Linked DNA regions of Homo sapiens: regions 1 and 3 are each linked to region 2. The links are contacts of gene promoters, found by promoter capture Hi-C in blood cells and fetal thymus (Javierre and others, 2016). All regions are on one chromosome and are shown on one strand. The core of a region is centred on a gene start or on the middle of the fragment in contact, and the rest is flanking DNA. Distances in the headings are between cores, read along the strand shown. Region 1 overlaps TRPC7 (transient receptor potential cation channel subfamily C member 7). Region 2 holds the start of IL9 (interleukin 9). Region 3 overlaps SMAD5 (SMAD family member 5).

Region 1 (3,030 bases), core at 341-2,840, 340 kb after region 2:
CAAAACAGTCTTTCTCATGCTGGATGTACAGTATCCTACACCTTATTCTAAAGTGTGACTATATCACAGTTTATTTAAACATTCTCATATCAATGGACTATTTCCAGGTTTTTCCTTTAACGAACATCTACGTAAAATGATATTGGATCTATTCCCAGAATTGGAATTGTTGAGTCAATAGGTCAGTGCTTTTTATTTTAACTTTAGCTTATTTATTTAATCATGTAGAAGGTAAAGCAACAACATGATTTATAAAGGATAAAAAGTATAAAGAAAAAGGAATTCCACCCACCATGCCCCCTATTCCCACCTCTCAACAGGCACCCCGTGGTGTCTTTCTTGTGGACCTTTCAGAGGTTTGTTCTTTTCATTTGCTTATACAATCACAAATGAATCACATTCCCTTTTCTTTCTCTCTTACACAAGAGAGAGCCCACTATATACATTGTTCTGGAACTTGATTTTTACCTCCTACCACTGTAACTTGAAGGTCTTTCCCCATCAGCATATACAGAACATATTTATCCTTCTTAAAATAGAATTGCACAGCATCCCATTTTTCAGATGCATCGTAGTCTATTTAATTAGATTCCTATTAATGCTCAGTTTGTTTTTAATTTCTTGCTGTTCCAAACAAGCTGCAATCAATAGCTTATGGTTCATGCCTTTTAGATTTTGATAAATTGCTTCCTGATACATTCTCTCAACCCCTTTATCTGTCAGGCAAAATTGTTCTGTTTTTAAATGGCCTTCCAGCATCACCTCTGGAAGCTTCCCCCATAGTCAATCTCTGTCTCTGTCCCCACACCACTCCCCACAACCTGGTTGCACTGGCCCCAGGGCATTGGAATTTGTTGATTGCCCTGTATGATCTCCTCACTGGACTATGAGTTTCTCTAGGCAGGAACTGTGTCTTAGTCATCTTGGTATCACCAGTGCCTAGTGCGGATTTGGCATACAGTAGGTACTTAATAAATAACACGTGAGAGGCGAAAGGGGCCTGGGGGCTGAAAGTCATTCTGATTGATTGCCATGGGTCATCTGCACGAGGTCCTGAGAAGACAAGTGTAAAAGAGAGAAGACTCATGACCCCAGTTCTTTCTGCTCTCGCTGGGCCTCATGGTGGTACCAGCAATGCCATGGGGCAGACTGACTTTGACTGCTTCTATTTCTAGAAGCAATCCAGGAAGAATGCCTGTTCTTTGCTGTTCTGGCTGCACATTTAACAACACATGGGCTTCTAACATCATTCCCCTCATTGCTGAAAAAAGCAATGTAAATTAGATGAAGGAGAGCAAGCATTTTCAGTGACCTGGCCTTACCTCAATTTCCTGATAGGAGTTGTTTATCATGGCTATTAGCATGTTGAGCAACACTACCACCATGGTGACGTTATAAACGCCGTAGAGAACGTAGCCAATGTTCTCGATGAATTTGTGGTCGTATTTCAGCACCACTGAGATTACTTCAGATAAGCCGAATATGGACCAAAACAAAGTTTTAAAACTTTCTTCAACCCTGCAAAGAAACAGACGGTCCTTTTACGCAGTTTGCATCAGCTTGAACTTTTATTTATTCATTCATTTATCTTGAGACAGGGTCTCACTCTGTTGCCTAGGCTGGAGTGCAGTGGCTCAATCATGGCTCACTCTAGCCCTGACCTCCTGGACTCAAGCAATTCTCCTGCCTTAGCCTCCTGAGTAGGTGGGACTACAGCTGTGCACCACCGCACCTGGCTAATTGTTTCATTTTTTGTAGGGATAGGATCCCACTATGTCGCCCAGGCTGGTCTTGAACTCCTGGGCTCAAGGTATCATCCCATCTTAGCCTCCCACAGTGCTGGGATGACAGATGTAAGCCACTGCATCTGGCCAGCTTGAACTTTTAAAATGAAAGTTGCCATTGGTCATGCTTTACCCTGGAGTGCCCAGTTGTTACCCTGGAGTGGGGCTGGGCTGGTTGGTGATGCCTGCATTCTGAGATAATGTGATATTCAGATTTCTAAGAAGACTTTGAAAGAATATTAAAAATGGCAAGCTCTTTATTTTTTATTCAATCCATTTATTGGGACTCCTGGCTGTGGTATCACTTTTCTCTTACTGTAATTAACTTAAACATTTAAAATTAAACACCTGGGTAAATGTTTGTTCTTGTGCATTATGAGCCCCAGAAAGTGCATTCTTCCTTCCATTAAGCCCTAACCATTTCTTCTCAGACTCCACAGCCCACGTGAAGGGGAGTGATGGCAGACACCTGGAAAGTGGGCAGTGTCCACACAGGAGGATGGCATCCCTGGAGTCTGACACTTCTAGGCACTCGACAAAGAGCAGCTCACTTAAGCCTCATGACCAGCTCTGTGGCGGGCTCTCATATGACCTCCTGTTACAGAGCTGAGGCTAGCCACATGTATTAAGCTTTCTAAACTGGGGCTGAATTATCAAGAATGAGAGTGGGGATTTTGGTGTGCCCACATGGTTCAAAATCACCAGGTGATTGCCCAAACCTCACCCTACGGCTCACTTAGGTTAGATGCTGCATGTGCCTTGAAGGCAGTTCAGGTTAGTCTCAGCTTTAACGACACTGCTCTTTGGCCCTTTTGAGACTACGAAGTAACTGAAATACAGTAGTGTTATGAATAAGACCCAAGTGCATTTCGTAGTCCATACTCTATGGGCATGACACTGTATCAGGCTGATGACCTAGAATCGAATAAGAAAGCTGGATTTTGGTTGGGAGGTTTAGACCATGCATGTATATCTGGTAACATCTGAATGGTTAAGTGCAGTTCTTTTAGTTTTCATCCAGATTTTTGGTACCACTGTAAGAAAGCACTTTTTTTTTTCCTCTTTAACATTTCAGGTTTTCAACACTCACCCACAAATGGCCAGGATTAGCTAGATCTTTAAAAATATCAGCATTTCTCAAGGATTGGTATTTATTTGACAAGATGTACAAAAATACTGGTACTCGTCACTTGGGCTAAAAATCCAACTCTTGACTCGCATGAATTTACAGCTCTCCCGAGTGTGA
Region 2 (3,242 bases), core at 700-3,199:
AGATGTCTTTTATCAACCTTGAACTACCAATTCCAACTTTATCATCCTTTTGTGTTCAAACAGGGTTGGCATCACCATTCACATAGAAATCACCAACAGGAACATATCACATATGAAAACAAACTTACTGGACACTTGTTGTTCTTTAGTACTTCAACTGATTTTTTCACCCGACTGAAAATCAGTGGGTATCTTGTTTGCATGGTGGTATTGGTCATCTGAGACAGTCTCTCACTGAAGCATGGTCTGGTGCAGTTGTCCTGGTAAATAGTAAGGATTTATTCAAAGAAATATTCTGAGGACAGCTTTGGAAATATATCACAAAGAGCAATATAATAGAGATGATTTTTATTTAATCACCATTACTCAAACTTGCATTATTTTTAGACAGGTCCCTTGCCAATGTAGGAAGTGATCTCCCGTATTTAAAGGGGATGCCATTTTTCCACAGTGACATCCCCTGGAGGAGACTTCCTGTATGTTACATCCAGGAAACATGAGGGCTCTGGGCCCTGAAATAGTCGGCTCTGAATGTTCTTTTCAACGGGTGCTTCCCGGCTTCAAGGCTTGTAAGTCTGAAAGTGCAGAGTGAGGAAAAGCCTTTTCACACCAGCTAATGGGATGTGACAATTGAATGCAGCTGGTATTTCAGCAGCAGCTAAAAACATGGACGGTACTCCAAGGGACAGGGGCTGTGCTGTCTGCCTGGTTCCTGCCCAGAAGGCACTCTATCCTCTTCTCATCTAATGGATGGACCGCGATGGGTGCGATGTCTTACCCTAGCCAGGGCAAGAAGCTCAGATTCTTCAGATTCTCCCAGGCCTTGCATGAGAAAGAATAAAGCACTGCACCTTGGAGAAGTGCCTCCTCCTCACCCTAACCAGGAGTTTGAATTAGGAATCAGAACTTTCCTGCCACCCATCCTTCCTGCCGTAGTGGGCAGTGGCCCTCTGGAAGCCCTCCTTCCACTCACAACCTCAGATCCTCTACCTGCCCAGAGGGCAGCATTCAAACCAACAGTCACTCTAATCAGCTAGACAGACAACAGGGTGGTGGGGAGGAAGGGAGGAGGCAGGGAGGGGGAGGTATAGCGCATAGATCATTCATGACAGATGAAAGATAAGGAGTTGTCATTTTATTTACATTGTTTCACAACTCTAGAGTTATCAGTAAATGAGTTAGAAAGCAATATGATATGAGCTACAGCAATTATTATATCCTTAGTTCCAGTTTTATTTAATTGTGCACATGGCCACCTATCTAAAAAGATATTCAGGATTCTTTTTTTAATGTTGAAAAGTGTTCAAACTTCTCAAGAGGCATAAAGTTAATTAAATACAAAGAAATGTTCATAATATAGGATTTCAAGATCGTAGTTTTAAAAGGGAATAATTTGTAACAATGTGGTTTTAACAGGGAATACTAATCTGTAACAATTAAATTAAGCAACAATGTATAACATTAAATATTAAATAAAGCAACTTATTTTTACTTAAAAACAAACCAAAAAAATCCAAGGTCAACATTATGTTATTTCACTATACTTACAGAGGGAATGCCCAAACAGAGACAACTGGTCACCTGCAAGGGAAATTTCAGAGTGAAGATTCCAGATGTGAAAATTAAAATTAATTTGGAAAGTTCTTAAAGAGCATTCACTCACATTAGCACTGCAGTGGCACTTGGAAGCTGGATCTTCCTAAAGTAGATAGAGAGATAAGAACCTTTAGTCAGCCCCGAGTTTTTTCATCCTCATACATATTTCACTTTGTCAGTAGCTGTCTTTCCCATGGGCTCCCCCTGCAGCCTACCTGCATCTTGTTGATGAGGAAGTTGATGTCCAGGATCCCCGCCAAGGTTGGACACCCCTGGCCTGCCACGGAGCACAGGAGCAGGGCAGAGGTAAGGACCATGGCCAGAAGCATCTTGACAGCGGACTGGAGCTCGCTTGCAGACACCTTCAAATCGAGTGGTATTTAAAGCTCCCTCTCAAACACGGAAAAACCCTGACATCAAACTGATACCAAGAGCCCACTTTTTCTCTGTAAGTTGGGGCCACTTTATACTAACAAACAAAAAAATCAAACTGAGTCACTTGACAGAGATGATGCTGTGCCAGGAAATATCATTCCTCAGAAAAGATGATTTTCAAAAAGTTGAGTACTGAAATGCTGAAGGAAAAGTTAAAGATCTAAAAACCAAGAAAAAAAATTCAAAGACAGGGATTCTGGTTGTGAGAGTTAGAATACTTTCCATGAACGCCCAGGTCTGTATTTTCCCTTTTTACATTATGGGAAATGCTGATATAATATAGCCAGTCATGGGTGTTCTAACGAAGGGGGGCCTGGGGAGACAGAGCGGGTTGGGGGAGGGTGCATGATATTGCAGAACTTCACTTATCTCTGTTGGGGTTTTCCTTTAGTAATTGCAACCTCAGTCTTACTATGCTTTATTCCCAAATCTCAATGTTTTTCATACCCAGGATGAAGTTTGCCACCTAATGCAAATGCATCTTAGAAGTATCCCTTTGTGCAAGTGTCTGAAAGAAGAAATGTTCAACTATAAGCACAAGAATGCGGCAACCATGCTTGTTAAAATTGGCCTTGAGGACTCCTCAGTATCTTTGGAGATCTTATATAACACTGTATGACATCAAGTAAAAACCCAGCACTTGAAAGAGTATAGTAGCTAACATTTACTGAGAACTTACTACATACTAGTAACATTTCTTTTTTTTTTTTTTTTTTTTTTGAGACAGAGTCTCCCTCTGTCACCAGGCTGGAGTGCGGTGGCACAATCCAGGTTCGCTGCAACCTCTGCCTCCCGGGTTCAAGCGATTCTCCTGCCTCAGCCTCCCGAGTAGCTAGAATTACAGGCACCCTCCACCACGCCCGGCTAATTTTTTGTATTTTTAGTAGAGACGAGGTTTCACTATGTTGGCCAGGCTGGTCTTGAACTCCTGACCTCGTGATCCGCCCGCCTTGGCCTCCCAAAGTTCTGGGATTACAGGCATGAGCCACTGGGCCTGACCATACTAGCAACATTTCTAAGTACTTTACATGCATTAAGCCATGTAATACACTCGGCTGCCAAATGAGGTGGGGAGTAATTTGTCATCACCATTTTTTACCCTTTAAAACACTGTCTACATCTTAGCTTCCTGGCCCTTCAGTATGGCTGTGTTTAATCACTATGAGTCAAAAAAGCAATCTCAGTGTAACTCTATGAAGTACTATAATTAT
Region 3 (3,114 bases), core at 150-2,649, 260 kb after region 2:
CCTCAGAGTTCTCTGTTCCTTGGACTTGCCATACTCCTGTTTCCAGGCTTTAACTCTTGCTGTCTACTTATTCTCCCCCAGGATCTTTCCATGGCACATTTTCTCATTCCATTCAGTCCTTGCTCAAATATCCGCATCACTAATTGACTCTATATTAGATATTTATTTTGTTTATTGACTGACATGAGCAGAGTCTTCCTCTATTTCATTCATTACTCTATCCTTAGTGCTTAGAATAGTATATTGTTGTCTGGCACTTGGTAGGTGATGCTCAGTAAATTTTTTTTATAATGAATGGTATAAGCTGAGCTGCTAGCTGAGTGCATTAGTCATCTATTGCTGCATGACAGATTGCCACAAACTTAGTGGCTTAGCACAATGCATGTTTATTACCTCACAGTTTCTTTGGGTGAGGAGTCCAGTCACATTTAGCTGGGTCCTTTGCAAGGCGCTGTAATCAAGGTGTTGGTTAGGGCCAAGGTCTTATCAGAAGCTCAATTAGGGAAGGATCTGCTTCCAAGCCCATGTGATTGTTGACAGATTTAGTTGCTTTCACATAGCCTTCTTTATAGGTAGTTCACATTCATGACAGCTTCTTCAAAGCCAGTAAGGAAGAGAGGGTCTTCTGGTAAGAAGGACATTATATTCTTGTGGAATGTAATCATACATACGCTGTCACCTTTGCCATATTCTGTTGGTTAGAAGGAAGTGATAGGTCATACTCATACTCAAGCAGGGAGAATTACCCAATGGTTTGAATACCTGGAGGTGGGAATCACAGTGGTTACCTTAGAGTCTATCTGGGTTTCACGTGGAGATGTGTGGTAAAAAGACTGAAAATAACATTGGATGTGGAGACTAGTAGAAAGGATAGCAGATAGCAGTGATTATGCTGTCTGTGAAAGTTCAACTTAAGAGCTTTAGAGTGTCTTTAGACAGTTGGTATGATATGATTCTCAGTTTCTTACTGAGTCCAAGGAAAGCTGATAGCTGAAGGAACTGATGAAGAAAGGAAGATAAAAGGATTTAATAGAGAAGTATAGGCTGAAAAACTCCCAAGCTTGCTATTTGCTAGGAGGGAGTCTAGGAATTTTATGTATTCCCCTATAGCCAAAGTGTGACTAGTAGTCAGCCAGCCAATAGAAATGTCTTATTTTTTGTATACATTTTTCTCAGCTATGATTCATTCTATAGAAAAGACTGGGGCATAGCTCTGATACTTTTAAATAACGGAAAATTTCATGTCTTACTAGTTCAACTATTGGAAAGAGACTATAGAGACCTCATGTTTCGCCCTGAGCCCAAACTCTTGGGGGAAGGGGCAGATTACCCAGCTAGATTAGCTTGCTGACCCCCCATGATTAAGCAGCTATGACGCAGAATGGATCACTTCATATTACCAGTATTAATAAAGTAGTAGAAGGTGGTGGTAGTGATAGTAGTAACAGTGATAGCAATTAATATTTATTGAGCACTGATGGAATAGTGATTCCTTCATGGGGTTAGAAAAGGGTACTGACATTTTACAACCCTTTCAGTTTACTTATGGGTTTATAGATAAGGAAACAAAGACTTAAAAGGGAAGTAACTTAGGCATGCTCACACAGTTAGAATATAGTGGAGTAAGTTTTGCAAAAAGATAAAAAGATGGAGGATAGTTAGAAAGAGATAATGAACATAAGAAAAATAGAGGGCCAACCTAGGTGGTCCTAGGTGTTTAGTTGAATACAGTGCACCCTAAGCTTTTTGGCACCAGGGTCTAGTTTCATGGAAGACAGTCTTTCCATAGAATTGGTTGGGGGATGGTTTTGGGATTATTCAAGCACATTATATTTATTGTGCACTTTATTTCTATTATTACATTGTAATATGTAATGAAATAATTATACATTTCACCATAATGTCAAATTAGTGGGAGCCCTGAGCTTGTTTACCTGCAGCTAGGTTGTCTCATCCAGGCATGATGGGAGACAGTGACAGATCATCAGGCATTAGATTCTCATAAGGAGCGCACAACCTAGATCCCTCATATGTGCAGTTGGCGATAGGATTTGCTTTCCTATGAGAATCTCATGCTGCTACTGATCTGACAGGAGGCGGAGTTCAGGCGGTAGTGAGAGCAATGGGGAGTGGCTGGAAATACAGATGAAGCTTCGCTCACTCTCTCTCACCATCACCTCCTGCTGTATGGCCTGGTTCATAAGAGAGCATGAACTGGGGGGGTTAGGGACCCCTGATCTAATAGACAGTATTGTCTATTGATTAAGACTGTGGGTTCTGGAGCCAGGCTTTCTGGATTTGAATCCTGGTTTTACCAAATACTACCTCAAGCCTTAACCTTTCTGAGATTTAGTTTCCTCATTGTAAAATGGTAATAATACTACCTACCTAATAGGTTGTTATGAGCATTAGATGAGTTGGTGCCTTAAAAAGTACTTGTTAAAACATTAAGTGGCCTGGAATCAGTTTCAAATTAAATATCAATTCTAATAGAATAATATATTCTGGAAATAGAGCATTGAGGAAGATGGCAGAGAGAAAATTTTCCAAGAAATAATATCAAACACTTCCCCAAACTGAAAATTGAAAGGGCTCAGTGACCAAGTAATCAGAACAAAGGATAAAAAAAGCCCCACATGAAATTTTTGTATATCATAGATTAAAAAAAAGATTCTGAAAACTTTCCAGAAAAGAAAGACAGGAAACATATAAAGGACTAGAAATCAGAATACTGGATTTCTCAATGCAGTTCTGGATTCTAGAAGAAAGTAAAGTAGTGCTGTCAAAATTCAGAAGGAAATGTTATCTGCCTGCCGACAAGCAAAAAAAATAAATTTTTATACATGCAGGAAGTCAAGAAAATTCAACTTTTTACTTTCTCTTAGGACACTAATAGAGGATGAGGTCCAGGAAATGTGATCCAGCAGTAGAGAAGGGAAGTCCAAGGACTTCAGACTTGTAGGAGACTTGAGCAGTAACCAATATAGGTTGGAACCAAAAGTTGGAAGATCTGGGCCTGGCACGGTGGCTCACGCCTGTAATCCCAGCACTTTGGGAGGCCGAGGTGGGCAGATCACGAGGTCAGGAGATCGAGACAATCCTGGCTAATACGGT

The links. Contacts are between HindIII fragments. The CHiCAGO score rates a contact against its expected background, and 5 or more counts as called.
Region 1: a fragment that was not itself captured here is called in contact with the fragment with the promoter of IL9 in region 2 in 10 of 17 cell types (M1 macrophages, M0 macrophages, endothelial precursors and 7 more); the score reaches 8.0 in M1 macrophages.
Region 3: a contact is called between a fragment that was not itself captured here and the fragment with the promoter of IL9 in region 2, in 3 of 17 cell types (monocytes, M1 macrophages and M0 macrophages). The highest score is 8.2, in monocytes.

Annotation. Positions count from the first base shown.
Region 1 is chr5:136,230,032-136,233,061 of GRCh38, forward strand. It overlaps TRPC7 (transient receptor potential cation channel subfamily C member 7), which reads right to left. Exons shown (of 12, transcript NM_020389.3): 8 at 1,323-1,518. The region is part of intron 1 of TRPC7-AS2 (TRPC7 antisense RNA 2); the gene reads left to right. Among named protein-coding and RNA genes, the nearest start is that of TRPC7-AS2, 4.9 kb to the left of the region's middle. The HindIII fragment of the contact is 1,643 bases long and covers 770-2,412 here.
Region 2 is chr5:135,893,892-135,897,133 of GRCh38, forward strand. IL9 (interleukin 9) reads right to left here and starts at 1,950. Exons shown (of 5, transcript NM_000590.2): 1 at 1,812-1,950; 2 at 1,664-1,699; 3 at 1,549-1,581; 4 at 129-260. The coding sequence starts at 1,925. LOC124901074 (a long non-coding RNA gene) reads left to right here. Exons shown (of 3, transcript XR_007058947.1): 3 at 1,807-2,257. The HindIII fragment of the contact is 6,689 bases long and covers 1-3,242 here.
Region 3 is chr5:136,155,605-136,158,718 of GRCh38, forward strand. The region is part of intron 3 of SMAD5 (SMAD family member 5); the gene reads left to right. Among named protein-coding and RNA genes, the nearest start is that of SMAD5-AS1, 22 kb to the left of the region's middle. The HindIII fragment of the contact is 682 bases long and covers 1,059-1,740 here.